Regions from separate parts of the Homo sapiens genome. Here region 1 is linked to region 2. The links are contacts of gene promoters, found by promoter capture Hi-C in human tissues and cell types (Jung and others, 2019). All regions are on one chromosome and are shown on one strand. Each heading gives the region's core, a stretch centred on a gene start or on the middle of the fragment in contact. The rest is flanking DNA. Distances are from core to core; before and after follow the strand shown. Region 1 has its middle 33 kb from the start of LINC02651. Region 2 holds the start of COL13A1 (collagen type XIII alpha 1 chain).

Evidence for each region. The method cuts DNA at HindIII sites, captures the fragments that hold promoters and counts their contacts. A contact is called where the count stands out against the background at its distance.
Region 1: a contact is called between a fragment that was not itself captured here and the fragment with the promoter of COL13A1 in region 2, in 2 of the 25 tissues and cell types used here (neural progenitor cells and pancreas).

Annotation. Positions count from the first base shown.
Region 1 is chr10:69,713,586-69,720,619 of GRCh38, reverse strand. No RefSeq gene overlaps it. Among named protein-coding and RNA genes, the nearest start is that of LINC02651, 33 kb to the right of the region's middle. The HindIII fragment of the contact is 9,757 bases long and covers 1-7,034 here.
Region 2 is chr10:69,799,090-69,805,572 of GRCh38, reverse strand. It overlaps COL13A1 (collagen type XIII alpha 1 chain), which reads right to left and starts at 3,667. Exons shown (of 41, transcript NM_001368882.1): 1 at 2,856-3,667. The coding sequence starts at 3,149. LOC124902444 (a long non-coding RNA gene) reads left to right here and starts at 3,802. Exons shown (of 2, transcript XR_007062179.1): 1 at 3,802-4,527; 2 at 5,437-5,710. The HindIII fragment of the contact is 11,372 bases long and covers 1-6,483 here.

The sequences.
Region 1 (7,034 bases), core at 3,505-6,004, 86 kb after region 2:
TGGATTGGAAGACAATATTATAAGACAATATTTCCACCGAATTGATATATAGAATCAATAAAATCCCCATTAAATCAATAAAATCCCCGTTAAAATCCCAGTAGGGTTTTTGTAGACATTGACAAACTGATTCTAAAGTTATATGGAAATACAAAGGATGTAGAACAGCCAAAACAACTTTGAAAAAGAACAATATTGAAAGACTTACTCTATGTGATTGTATGACTTATTAAAAACTATAGTAATCAAGACAATAGGGTATTGGTATGAAGATAGACAATAGATCAATAGTGGACATTTAGTCTGGAACGAGAGATAGGGGTCATTCTTACAGAGTCAGAAGGCAGCCCAGGTACACAGTCCAATCACCAGGTAAGCACCAGCGGACAGGTCCATCTTAGTAAAGGCTATGGCCAAACATCCACCCACAGAGAAGGAGATCTGTACCTGGGAGAAAGTAATAGAGTCTAAAAGTAGACCCACTTGTATGTGATCAACTGATTTTTGACAGAGGTGCCGGGTAATGCGTAAAAGATAATCTTTTCAACAAATGGTGCTGGAACAATTAGACAATTAGATACCCACATGCAAAAATAAATAAATAAATAGGAACTTGAATTCATAAATAACTTAGATTCATAACTTGCACCATATATAAAAGTTAGCTCAAAAGAACATAGACCTAAATGTAAGAGCTAAATTTACAAAATTAGAAGAAAACATAGGAGGAACCCTAGTGACTTGGATTTGGAAAAGGTTTTATAAATGTAATGCAAAAAGCACAAACTATTAAAAATAAATACATTGGGCTTCAAAATTTTAAAAGTTTGCTCTTCAAAAATATATGCTTATGAAAATGAAATGGCAAACCACACACTGGGAAAAATATTTGCAACAAATTTATCCAGCAAAGGCCTTATATCTAGACTATATATAAAGAATTCTTACAACTCAATCAAACAGCAAACAACCCCATTTTTAATTATTTATTTATTTATTTTAATTTTTTTTTTTTTGAGATGAAGTCTCTCTCTGTCGCCCAAACTGGAGTGCAAAGGTATGATCTCAGCTCACTGCAACCTCCACCTCCCGGGTTCAAGTGATTCTCCCGCCTCAGCCTCCCGGGTAGCTGGGATTACAGGCACCAGCCATCATGCCCAGCTAATTTTTGTATTTTTGGAGAGACAGAGTTTCATCATGATGGCCAGGCTGGTCTTGAACTCCTGACCTCAGGTGATCCATCTGCCTCAGCCTTCCAAAGTGCTGGGATTACAGTTGTGAGCCACTGCGCCTGGCCGAACCCAATTTTTTAAGTGGGCAAAATATTTGAACTGACATTTCACCAAAGAAGATATGTGGATAACAAATAAGCATGTGAAAAGATGCTCAATACCATTAGTCATTAGGAAAATGCAAATTGAACACCCACTAGAGTGGCTAAAAATAGCTTAAAAAGACTAACTTTAGTGAGTGTTGGCCAGCACATGGAGCAACTGGAACTCACACACGCTGCTGCAGAGAATGTAAGATGACATTCCATTACAGAAAACAGTTTAACAACTTCTTTCCACCCAAGAAAAATGAAAGCATTTGCCCATGTGTGCATGAATGCTCATAGCAGCTTTCTTTGTAATAGCCAAAAACTGGGAACAACTCAAACGTCCATCAGCAGATGAATGGAAATACAAATTGTGGTCCTTCCACACAATGGAACACCACTCAGTGATAAAGAGCCATGAACTGCTGACACACACAGTAATGTGGATGGCCACCAAATTAATTAGGCAGAATAAAAGAAATTGGACCCAAGAAAGTATACACTGTATGCATCCATTAATAGAACATTCTAGAAAAATTCAAATTCATCTATAGTGACAGAAAGCAGATCAACTTTTGAGGGTGATAAGGATGTTCACTGTCTTGATTGTGGTGATCGTTTCACAATGTATACATATGTCAACATTTTTTATTAAGTTGAACACTTTAAATATAGGCAATTCATGCTCTATCAGTTATACCTCGATAAAGCTATTTTTAAAGTGTTTTTTTAAAAAGATAAGGGCGAGGTGCAGTGGCTCATGCCTGTAATCCCAGCAATTTGAGAGACCCAGGTGGGAAGATTGCTTGAGCCCAGGAGTTCAAGACCAGCCTGGGCAACATGGTGAAGCCCCATTTCTACGAAATAGTACAAAAATTAACGGGTGTGGAAGTGCGTATCTGTGGTCCCAGCTACTCAGGTGGCTGAGGTGGGAGGATCAATTGAGCCTGGAAGGTCGAGGCTGCAGTGAGCCGTGATTGTGCCACTGTACTCTAGCCTGGGCAACAAACAAGACCCTGTCTCCAAGTAAATAAATAAAGGGAAGAATAGGCCTAGGCAAGGATTCTAAACTAATTTTTGGTTATGGTCCTTTGAGAATCTGATGGAAAACCACATAAAATTGGACACACACAAATCCCACACAATTCCAGGTGGGTTTGTGGACCCTCAGTGGCCTGCGGCGCCCACCCTCAGGCCCCAGGTTTCACGCCCCTGGTCTACAGTAGCATCAATGACCACACGTGTTCACATGCTGACTCTCCACCCTAAAATAATGCTGGACCCCTTCCCCTCGGTATAGCTCACCCTCCCCTGGGCCAAGAACATGCATTTATGACAAAGTTGATAGATATTACAGTAAGACACTGCACCCTGAGAGAGAGCCACAGGGTGGGCCCACCATGGAGTCAAGCCCAGAGGGCTGGCCATTGGTGCACTGCGTGCTGACCCCTGAACTACGGGCCCATAGCATCATGAAAGCTCAGAGCAGCCATCCTGGGGGAGCTGGAGGAAACAGGGACATGTTCTGCTTTCTCGGTCTTCTTCTTCTGCCTTGGTCTCCCAGACACGGGCCTCCTTCACTGTGGCCAGAGGCTTGGCCATAGCCTTTAGTGAGCCGGACCTACCTGCTGGTGCTTACCTGGTGATTGGACTCTGGATGCAGTCTGATCCCTGACTTTGTAAGAATGCCCGTTGGTCCTAGCCCCAGACTGAATTCTAACTCTCATCACCACTGCTCCTAACACTGACCCCACATTGACTCAAGTGCGTTACAAACCACAAGGGAGTCCAGATCAGGAACTGTGGGTGCTCAGAGCAGCTGAGCCTTCTTGGAGACACAGAACAAAAGCTGTGTTTTCAATCCTGTTGCCTCGAAGCCTGAGCCAGTGCAGGTGGATCGGTGCTGACGGTGATGATAACGAGAAGGAAAAGGTGAAACGGGCAGAAAGAGCCTCAGTGTGATTTGGCTGCGTGAGCAAATCCGTCCCACCCTTCAGAGTCTCAACCTGCGATCCTTCGTCTAAACTGGATTTTGGCTCTGCAGACCCTGAAATAGGAAGACAAAGAAGAGACACAGAACAGCCCTCCCTGCCCTCCCCTGATTTACCCCATTCTACCTGAGTCCCTGGGGAGAAATGCTCAAACCCAAACCTCCCAGCAGAGGGCGCCCTGTGCCTTCTAACTCGGCACAGTGGCGGTTTCCTGGGTGCCAGGAGGGGAGTCCTTGGTTCCCAGGTGCCCAGCCAGGCCGAATGGCAGGAGGAGGGAGCTTCTGGCCAAACCGCTCCTGAGACTCCCCTCCTGGTCCCTCCTGAGTTGTCAACTGTCTGTGCCTTGTGGTGGATGGTGTCGGTGGGTTCAGAGATGCCTTTGGCTGGGACCGTGCAGGGAGGATGCTCTCTCTCTATCCCCTCAAAGTTCCCTAGTGGTTAGTGGGCACCCACCCACAAAAACACTGTAGGGCTCTGGCTGCCCCAGCCTGCCCCATGCCTAAGGAACTAGCTTCCTGCCCTCCAACAGGGTCTAATCTGAGAATCCTGGACCACATAAAAACGCACACCTGTTGGGGTGAGGGACGGTGCCAGCTCAGTGGCTCTATCCTAGCTGCCCATCACAGTCACCTGAAAAGCTCTGTAAACACACCAGTACCTGGTTCGCTCTCCACCAATAAGCAGAGATTCTGGAGGTAGGGCCCAGGAGAAGTATTTTTCTCAGGTCCCAGGGCTGAGAACCAAGGGACAGAGGCTCTGCCGGATGGCTCAGCCCTTGTGCTCCAAGTGTGGCCCCAGGACACAGCATCGCCTGGGAGCTTGTTAGAAATGCGGGGTCTTGGGCCCCACCTCACGCCTCCTCACCCGGGAGCTGCAGCTTCACAAGATCTCCAGGTGATTCACGGCACATAAAAGTTTGGGAAGTGCTGACTCCTGACACCAAGAGGTTGATTTTGTGATTGGGCTGTGGGAAGCAGACCAAAAATAGTTGCCACATGGCACGTGAACAAGTGTTAGCAGAACAGAGAGAGCTGCAGGACATTTAAAAATGGGAGCCCTCTGAGTGCCGGAGTATTCAGAAGGCTTCTTGGTGGAGGCAGAATTTCAGCAGCCTTGAAGTCAGGTCAGTGAAGAGGGTGAGGAGATATTTCAGGAGGGGTCATGGCTCAGTGAGGGCCCCGGGGAGGAAAGCACATGGCGCATCGGGACACAGCGAAGAGGCAGCCTGGGGGAGAAGGACCTCCTTAGAGAGCAGGCAGAAGTCCACCTGGACAGGGAGTTTGGAGCCAGCCAAGGGGACCCGTGACTGTTGGGCAGAGGAGTTAGAGTTTTCTCTGTAGGCAAAGGGGAGCAATTGAAGATTCTTGAGCAGCAAAATAGCCTGTAAATAAGAGCTTTGAAAAATATACCAGAAAAAAAATGGGAGGAGAGATGGAACAGAATGGCCCGCTTTCCCCATAGTCCCAGACAGGGTGATTAATAAAGAAAACAAGAAAAGGAATAGCTACATTTTTCTGGTGCTTACTATATTCCCAGCATGATTCCAAGTGCTTGCTTTGGTTACAAGTAGAGTTGACGTTCAGCCGGTGCACACCAGCAAGCTTCTGGGTGGCATCTTAACTGAGGGGTCAGAGTCTCCAAAGCCCCTATTGTGAAACATGTTGAATGTCATCCCTGGTTAAATCTAGGCCTCTGTCCAACAGACCACGTGCAACCCCCAGCACAGTCAAGTAGCACAACCACAAGGAGCCTTGATTTCTCCTGTGTTAAATGGAGTTAGCAGTAACTGCACCCCATGGAGTTTCAGTGAAGATTGAAGAAGGCCATTTATGTAACACGCTTAGCAAAATGTCTGGCGCAAAATGTGTGGATAAATGGAGCTATTGTCATTCGGCAGAGCCTCGTGTGAGGGAGTGATGCTGGAGACTGGAGGCTGAGTGTCTCATCTGTGCCTACTTCAGACTTCTGGACCACCTGCTTCCCTTGCAGGCTGTGGGTAAGGGCTCCATTCCCAAACCCCATCCCATCCTCTTAGCTATGGCCAAGTAGACCCAGCTCCTGGAAGACAGCGTGCTGCTTCAGGATGAAGCCTTCTCACGTCTTTCAGCTTGAACCCCCTTCCTTTGGGCTGACCCCCATTTGCCCGTGAATACCTAGTTCAGTGAACAAAAGAGAAACTGAGTCCAGGGCACAGTCCCTGAGCGCTGAGACTGGATTGGAAGCCCCTACCAACACCCTGTGGCCATTGTCCCCAGCACTACCATCACTGCCATCTTCGGTGTCCTGGCTGCCTCCCCACCATGCTGTGTAAGGACTCTTTGGGTCCCGGAATTCCCAGGCTCAGCGCTGTGGCCTGAAGGCTTGGCCCAGCAATTGGCAGGGCGCAGGCAAGCAATAATATTGAGTGAATGAATGAATGAGCATTCTCTCCTAGAGTTCCTGCATCTGGGGGAAGGTAGTGTGACTTCATGGTTGAGAGCTGTCAGACAACCTGGATTTAAATCCTGGATCTCCCATTTACTAGCTGTGTGACTTGGAGCAAGCTACTTAACCTCTCTGTGCCTCCATCTCTGCGCCTATAAGATGGGCTAATACAGTTGTGATGAATTAATTAATTAATATGCATAAAGCACTCAGCACAGGTTCTGGCAGGGGTAATCTCTCAATAAATCATACCTGGAATTATCATTATGGTGATTATCGTTAACTCTTAGCTCCCTGGGCTTGCAAACAAGCCTGGCTCTTCAGAATAGAGACATCTAGGGTGCAGGAGCCCCCACCACCCTGTCCTTGGCAGGCGGGAGAGGATTTCAGGACAGGCAGCGGCCTGGCCTGCAGGCTGGAAAGGTGTGCTGGGAGGATTCCTCCAGCTGCTTCCTCCCTGTACCCCTCTAACCCAAACTTCCTCTGGGAGTGGATTGAGCTGCAAGGTGACTTCCTTTGCCTGTGATCCTAAGTCCCTCACCTCATTGCATCTGGGACAGAGCCCCGGACTCCATGACCCCCACCTCATTTCCAAAAAGATTAGACCAAGCAGGTTCCCCCACACTTTCCCTTCTTCCCCAACCTCTCCCACCAAGTCATAGGTCAGCATCCCCCAAAATGTGCTCTTTAAGACACAAGTCCTGAGGGGAGCTCCCCAGTCAAGTGCTTCATGTCACAGTTGTTTTTTTGTTTGTTTGTTTGTTTGTTTTGAGACGGAGTCTTGCTCTGTCGCCCAGGCTAGAGTGCAGTGGCGCGATCTCAGCTTACTGCCAGCTCCGCCTCCCGGGTTCATGCCATTCTCCTGCCTCAGCCTTCTGAGTAGCTGGGACTACAGGCGCCCGCCACCACGCCCCGCTAATTTTTTGTATTTTTAATAGAGACAGGGTTTCACCATGTTGGCCAGGATGGTCTCGATCTCCTGACCTCGTGATCCGCCCGCCTTGGCCTCTCAAAGTGCTGGGATTACAGGTGTGAGCCACTGCGACTGGCCCATGTCACAGTTTTATGCTGCAGCCCTAGTGCTTCCTAATGCACATTTGTTACTAAAGGCCCTGACAAGTCCTGCAGCATACAACATTGTTTCTCTCTTGTATCAGCTTCCTAGGGCTGCCATAACATATTACCACAAATGTGATGGCCTAAAAACAACAGAAATTTATCTCTCACCATTCTGGAGGCCACAGATCTGAAATCAAGGAATGGGTAGGACTGTCCTTCCTCAAAAGGCCCTAGAGGAGAAT
Region 2 (6,483 bases), core at 2,418-4,917:
GGCTGTTGCAACAGACAAGCTAAAATTTAAATTTTATTTAATTTTAGTTAGTTTAAATATAATGAGTTGCATATGACTAGCAGTTACTGTATTGGACAGCCCAACCCTAGGGTGTCCCTCCAGGAGCACAGACAAGGCCCCCACAGATAAGGCCACTCACGCCATCCACCTGTGGGACAGCTCCCTTCCTCTGGCTCCAGCATCTTCCCCTATTGACCTCAGCCACCATTTCCAGTCACCCCTCTCTGACCCTACTTTTACCCCCATTCATTGTCCCCTCTGGCCTGCAGCAGCCTTCTGTTTTTGGCCTTACTGCTTTGCCAGCCGTAAGCACTCACTCTAGGGGCATAACTGCCTTCCTGAAAACCCTTCAATGGCTCCCCATTACTCTTATTTAGATCTAACTTTCTCTAAGGCCCCTCTTGACCTGGGCTGCCCGTCTCTCTCCAGCCACATCTCCTACTTCCTCACACTCCCAGTCCTCCGGGGTCCTGGACTTCCCCCAGTTCTCCCAATTCCCTCTGGCCCCCAGCCTCAAAGGCTGTTCCGTTTGTCCCCTTAGAACAAGGCTTCACACTCGCCCGCTTTTGCCTGGCAAACTCCTATTCATCCTTCAGCTCTTCATTTGAAAATCATTTCCCTAAGGAAGCCTGCCATGACTGCCACCACCATCAGACAATGTTGCATGTAATGCATTCCCCAGGCCCCTCTCTTTTTTCACTATTGTAGCTTTTTTTTTTTTTTTTTTTTTTTTTTTTTTTTTGCACACGACATGGTCACTGCCCATTTTCTTCTTTGTGCACTACTTCCCTGTATGTAAGTTTAGGAGGGCAAAAGTGTCTCCCACAATGCCTGACCCGCAGCAGGCTCTCAGTAAACATTTTCTGAATGAATGAATGAGAATAGGCCAAAAAAAAAAAAAGGTGGCAGGATACAGCGCAAAGAACATTGTATACAGGGCCAGGAGGCTGAGGTTCTAGTCCTGGGCCTCGCCATGTGACTCTGGGCTCAACTTCCCCATCTGAAAAATGGGGTTCAGTTCAGATGCTCTCTGGGATAACTTTCATATCTAGCAGTTGAAAAGATTGTATTCAGTAGGGTAAATATGGAGCTGCAGCTTGGAGGGAAGGAGTGAGCATGTCGGATACAATAGTTAGCCCCAAGGCCCCTAGAGTATGCGACTTGGCATGTCTAAGTCTGAAGCAGTGGAAGCAAGAAGCTAGAAAAGGCCAGGGCATGGTCAGGCCAGCAGGAAGGTCTGGGAAGGGGAAAGCATGGAGAGAGGGGCTGTGCTAAACCCTGAAAATCAGATGCTTATCCCTCAGCAGCCAGGACCCCCGAGATACCTGGAGGAGCTCTCACTGCCCTGACACCTTCTTCACCACCCAGCCAGTCTGGGCTCATTCTGCCTGAGCCCAGAGATGCTGCACCTCCACCCCAGGCCCAGGGAACCATGGACGGCCCGATGGAGTTCTCCGGATTCCCTGGAGCCTGGCAGGGCGTGGGAATGAGCTGACAGCAGCAGTCATGGGTGCACCACTAGCACCAGTACGCTTGCCCTGTGACCGCTCTCTCTGCTCTGGCCCTGCAATCTCCTCCTTGGCCACCCTGGAGAACTGCTCCAGCAGGTGCCAGCCTGGCAGGGGCAGCTGAGAAGAGCCTGGCTATAGGGAATAGGTACATCTTGCCAAAATGCTCACAGCACCCCACCCACCACAGTTAGAGCTGTGCTCCAGTGTTTGCTACATCAGCACTGTTTCGCATGTTCAGAGGGGTTGGAGCGTTTGTCCCAAGCTTCCAAGTAGCAGAGTGGGGATAAAAACCCAGGGTTGCTGGCCTCTACCACCGTGATCTTTACTGCTGCACACTCCCTCCAGCTAAGTAAGATATCCTCTCCCATTTCTTCCCCATGGAAACCTTCCATGGCCAGGACCTTCCATGGCCAGGACCTGCTCCAGGACCTCTTCCCAGACTGCTGCGGCCCCCACCTGCCTGTCCTCCTCTCTATCTGGGCCCTGAATCCCCTGTGCTGTCCAGATTCCCACAGATCATCAAGCCTCACCCTGTCAAGGCCCAGCCTTTCCTCTGGTGGCACAAAGAGGCTGCATGTCCCTCCTTCCTGGGGAGGGGACAGCCTTTTCCTGTATTCCGAAGATTGCCATAGCTACCTGACACGCTAGTAGTGTTTAATCTACTTGGATCAAAAAAATTTGGAGAATGGAAGAAAGCATCCTTTCTCCAGAAAAATAAGAAACCTGGTTTAGGAAAAAGAAGGTGTGGACTAATTTGTGGCCAAGGACAGCAGAGCCAGGCGACCCACACTTGGACCCTAGCGGCCTGGGCCAGTGAGCAGAGACCAGGGCACCACCCCCTGCAAGAACTGTCCCCTCTCCCCGCACCCCCCGGGTCCTTAAGGGGTGGAGGGGGAGGGCCATGGGGGCTCAGTAAGCCTCGGCCTGGGCCTCTGGGCGCGCTTGCCGCTGCGCGGGCGCGGGGCGGCTGTCACACCACCCTGGCCGGGTCCCGAAAGGGAGGAGTGGAGCTTGCCCGCCTCCGCGAGCCTCCGCGCGCCCAGCCTTCCTCCACCTGCCCGGCGTGCCCAGGGCGCTCCCAGCGCTGGAAGCCGGGGGCGCTTGCCCGAGGCGGGAGTCGCTGGGTCATGCTCTTGCCCACCAGGTCCTCCGAATCCCTGGTAGGGCAGCGTCTGTCCGTGTCCCCGACCCCTCCCGCAGGCAACTCGCGCGAACCTGGGGCTCGCAGAGAGCGAGCGCCCGCGGACACCGGCTGAACAGTCTGGAGGCTGCGCGAGGGGGCGCCGCGGGGAGGGATAAAAGCCAGCAACAAAGAGCACAGACCTCGTCCAGCAGTTGATTGACTCGTCCCAAAATAGCCGTCTCCATTTGCTGCTCCCCGCGCTCCGCTTCCAGGCGCAGCACCCGGGCCTGCAGCTCGGCCGTCCGAAAGTGGGCGAGCAGGCTGAGTGCCAGCGAGCAGAGGGCCAGCGTCAGCAGCCCGCACGACCCTGGACTCGGCAGCCGTGCGCCGCGCTCCGCCCGCGCCGCCACCAGAGCCACCGTCCCGGGCGCGCCCAACTCCCCAGGGCCGCGGGCACCGGTGGCTGCCGCTTTGTGGGTGCGCTCCGCTACCATCCTCTCGCGTCTTGAGAACCAATAAATAAATAAATAGAATAAATAAAGGCGACAGCCGCTGCCAAAAGGCTCTATCCAAACTGCGGGGCAGGGGGAAAGGGCTTGTATCGCTGGAAAACGTCCCTTTCCGCTGCTCCCGGCAAAGAGGACGGAAAAATTAGCAGTAGGAGAGGAAGTGCCGAAAAAGCACAACCAGCGGTAATTGGGGTACACCTAGGTGAGAAAAAAGTTATTTCGAAGAACGTTCCAAGTCCAGGAAAGTTAGGGGAATCTGACCGGCTCTCCTTCTCTCCGCCCAGTCTTTCCCTTCAAGTGTCTGCAGAGCAGTTGGTGCCGCGCTGTCAGTCCTTCTGGGCGCCTCGTGTCTCCCGGGCCAGTCAGTTTCAGTCCCCGGGCGAAGGGGCGCACACGGAGGGCCCCATGGGCAGAGGTGGGTCGTGGCGGCTGGCGAGGAGCGCAGGGGCCGATTCCGGCGCCTCTGTAACTTGACACACTCCCTGCGGCGGCACGGATCGGATGAGCAATCCGTGCTACTTCCCAAACTAATCTCTCCCTCCCCCCTCCCTCCTCCTCCTCCTCCTCGTCACTCCTCCTCCACCTCCCGCGGGGCCGACGGCTTGGATTTGTTTATTTATGCAAACTCGCCCAGGGTGGGGGGCGTGGTGAGCAGGTCCGGCGGCCCCAGCCCGCCGGCCCGGGAGCCCCTCTGCCGCGCTCCCCGTCCTCTTTGAAGTGACACTTGGGGTTATTTATAGGCAGGAAGGGGGTGTGGAGTGGAGCTGGCGCTGCACTTCCCTCTCTTTCTCCGGATTCACACCGAGGGCTCGTTTGGCCTTCCACGGAGGCGGTGAGGCGGGCACCACCTTCCATGGACGCGTTGGGGCAGGCACCACTCCACCTTTCCCAGCCCTTGAGACCCTCCAGGAACTCGACTGAGTTATTGTCAGGGCTTGTGGGTGGATCTCCACGTCCTGATCAGGACTACCTGATCCCTTCAGCCACCGCTCCTCTACTCCCAAGCCCCCAACCTCTTTCCCCTTCCTTCTCCCCCGACAACCGACTCCCCGGGGGCTCTGTACCTCCTGAGATCTGCAGCTCCTCCAGTGCCGGGCGGCCAACCACATCTTTACTCTGGGGTGAAAAGTCAGCCCTCCAGGGGGCAGCAGAGCTGGCAGCCCTTCCTCTCAGGACCAAGACCTGAGGTAGTATGAGACACTGAAAACGGAGGAGATCTTATTCCAGGTATCTGAGAGGTGGCTCATTGGGGCCGCCTGCCAGTCCTGACATCTCCCCTTCTTGCCTGCCATTAATCTGAGACCCATGCCATCTATCCCTGTGTGGTGAGACCAGCCTGCCTCAATCATCCCAGTCATCAAAGGTGAGCAATTCCTACACAAACTCAGGTTCCATCCCTGCGGGAGGCTTAGGGCTAACCAGGCTCTCTCCTGTTGTCATTTCCTATATTCCACTAGAGAAAAACTGGTGGCCTGAAGGGCATTTGGTAGTTTTCTCTCTTCTCTTGTCACCTCCTCCACCCCCCACATTAAGTAGCATTTGTATCCCAAGAGACTTTATCTCCTTGTGCCTGTTGACATTCCTGTGAATGAGGTGGTGGGACTGAGTTTTTGGGAGAAAGCCTGTCTTCCTGGAACAGCGGGCAGAGGAGAGTAGACTGGGTTTTCAAATATGCAGTGGAGGTGGGGGCAGCAGTGGTGCTGGGATTCCATTTCAAAATAACAAGGCATGCCAGTACAAACTTCCCATTTTCTATATTGACCTGATGGAACTTGATATATAATACAGTGTCACTGCACTTCTAATAAAGTGTGGCACACTTAATAGTGCATATTGGACTTGTAACATAGTAAGTACTGAGATCATATGTAATAAAGGTAACATTGACTGCTGGGCCAGTCAGCCACTATGGAGGACAACAGGAATAGAAGGCGATGCTGCTGAAAGAGCCCGTGGCCAGGAGCTCTGGGTTCCAGTTCCAGTTCTAGGATTCTCCTGATGGCTTCAGTGGCAAGGGCACTCTGTTTTCTCCATCCCTGTGATGGGATGTCCCAGTCCACTCTACAGAGGAATGAATCCTTGGGAGACTTGGATGGTATTGAAGAACACCAGGGGGCGTTGGAGAGTTTCTGCACTGGGAGGTACAGGCCAGGAAATTCAGGGACTTTGGACTTCCCCCACTCCCCTCCCAGGCTAGTCTGAATGGAGGAACTGAGGTGGGGAGTTAGTTTCATTCCCTCCTTATTCTGCAAACTGATCTTTTCCCTTTCAGGACTTTGGAGGCCCTCAGGAATGCTCAGGCAGTGAAATCTAAACAGTTTGGAGCTGGAGCATCCTTGTGATTGGGAACTGAAAGAGGAGGGTGTTGCGCTAGCCTGACCTGGCCCCAGCATTGCAAACCCTGGAGCTTCCAGGGGGACTCTGGAGTCAGAGAAACCTGGGTGTAAATCTCCCTTTTGTCAATGTGGAAGCTGCTGAACATCTCGGAGGCTCAGTTTTCTCATTTGTAAGATGGGCTGATAATAAAAGTATCTACCCGTCTGGAAGGACTGAATGAGGTAATGTATGTAAAGCAGTGAACACAGTGCTGGCACAGGGCAGGCACTCAATAAAGGGCATCGGCTCCTTCTTTGGAATTCATGGCTGCTAGGGCCATCTCAGACACAGCTAGCTCTGGGCTCCCAGTTGTGAAACAGGAAGAAGTTTCCATCCCAGAGAAAGCAAATGGATCACAGTTAACCTCCATTTTTTCCCTACCTGACAGCTGAGAGTAGCAGCTTGTGAGCAGCAGGAGTTAGCTTGTGTTGAGGGGCCTGATCCCCAGGTATCCCTCTTCTTCTTCCCACACTGCTTAGAATTCTTGCCCTGGGAGATTTTTCTTTCAGGTAGAGCATTGTCTACCCCAGGCACAAGTTACAGCCTCATGTGGCTTATCTTGAACCCTTCTTTCTTCATAGGTGGGGGCCAGGACCTGGGGACACTGAGGTGAAAAGAGTGCCTTCCAGGAGCTTTAAAAACAGTTGATTAAGGAAGACAAGTCATGTTCACATAAAACCGCCACAAAAGGCAGAATAGCGAAAATCCACAAAACATGTAAAGACCACAAAAGGTGCTTCAGGGCTCCCAGAAGAAAGGGGGGGGATTCAGATGCCTCAAGAAAAACACCAGGAAATAGATTTTCTTGTTTGCAGTAAGAAGAAAGAGGGCCTCCAATGCTAACCCAAAGACTTTGATTTTAAACTGTGGTCTTGGTTACACACCTAGACAAAAATGAAGAAAAAATGCCCCAGGCATACAGCCTCTACTGTTCTTCAAGTCT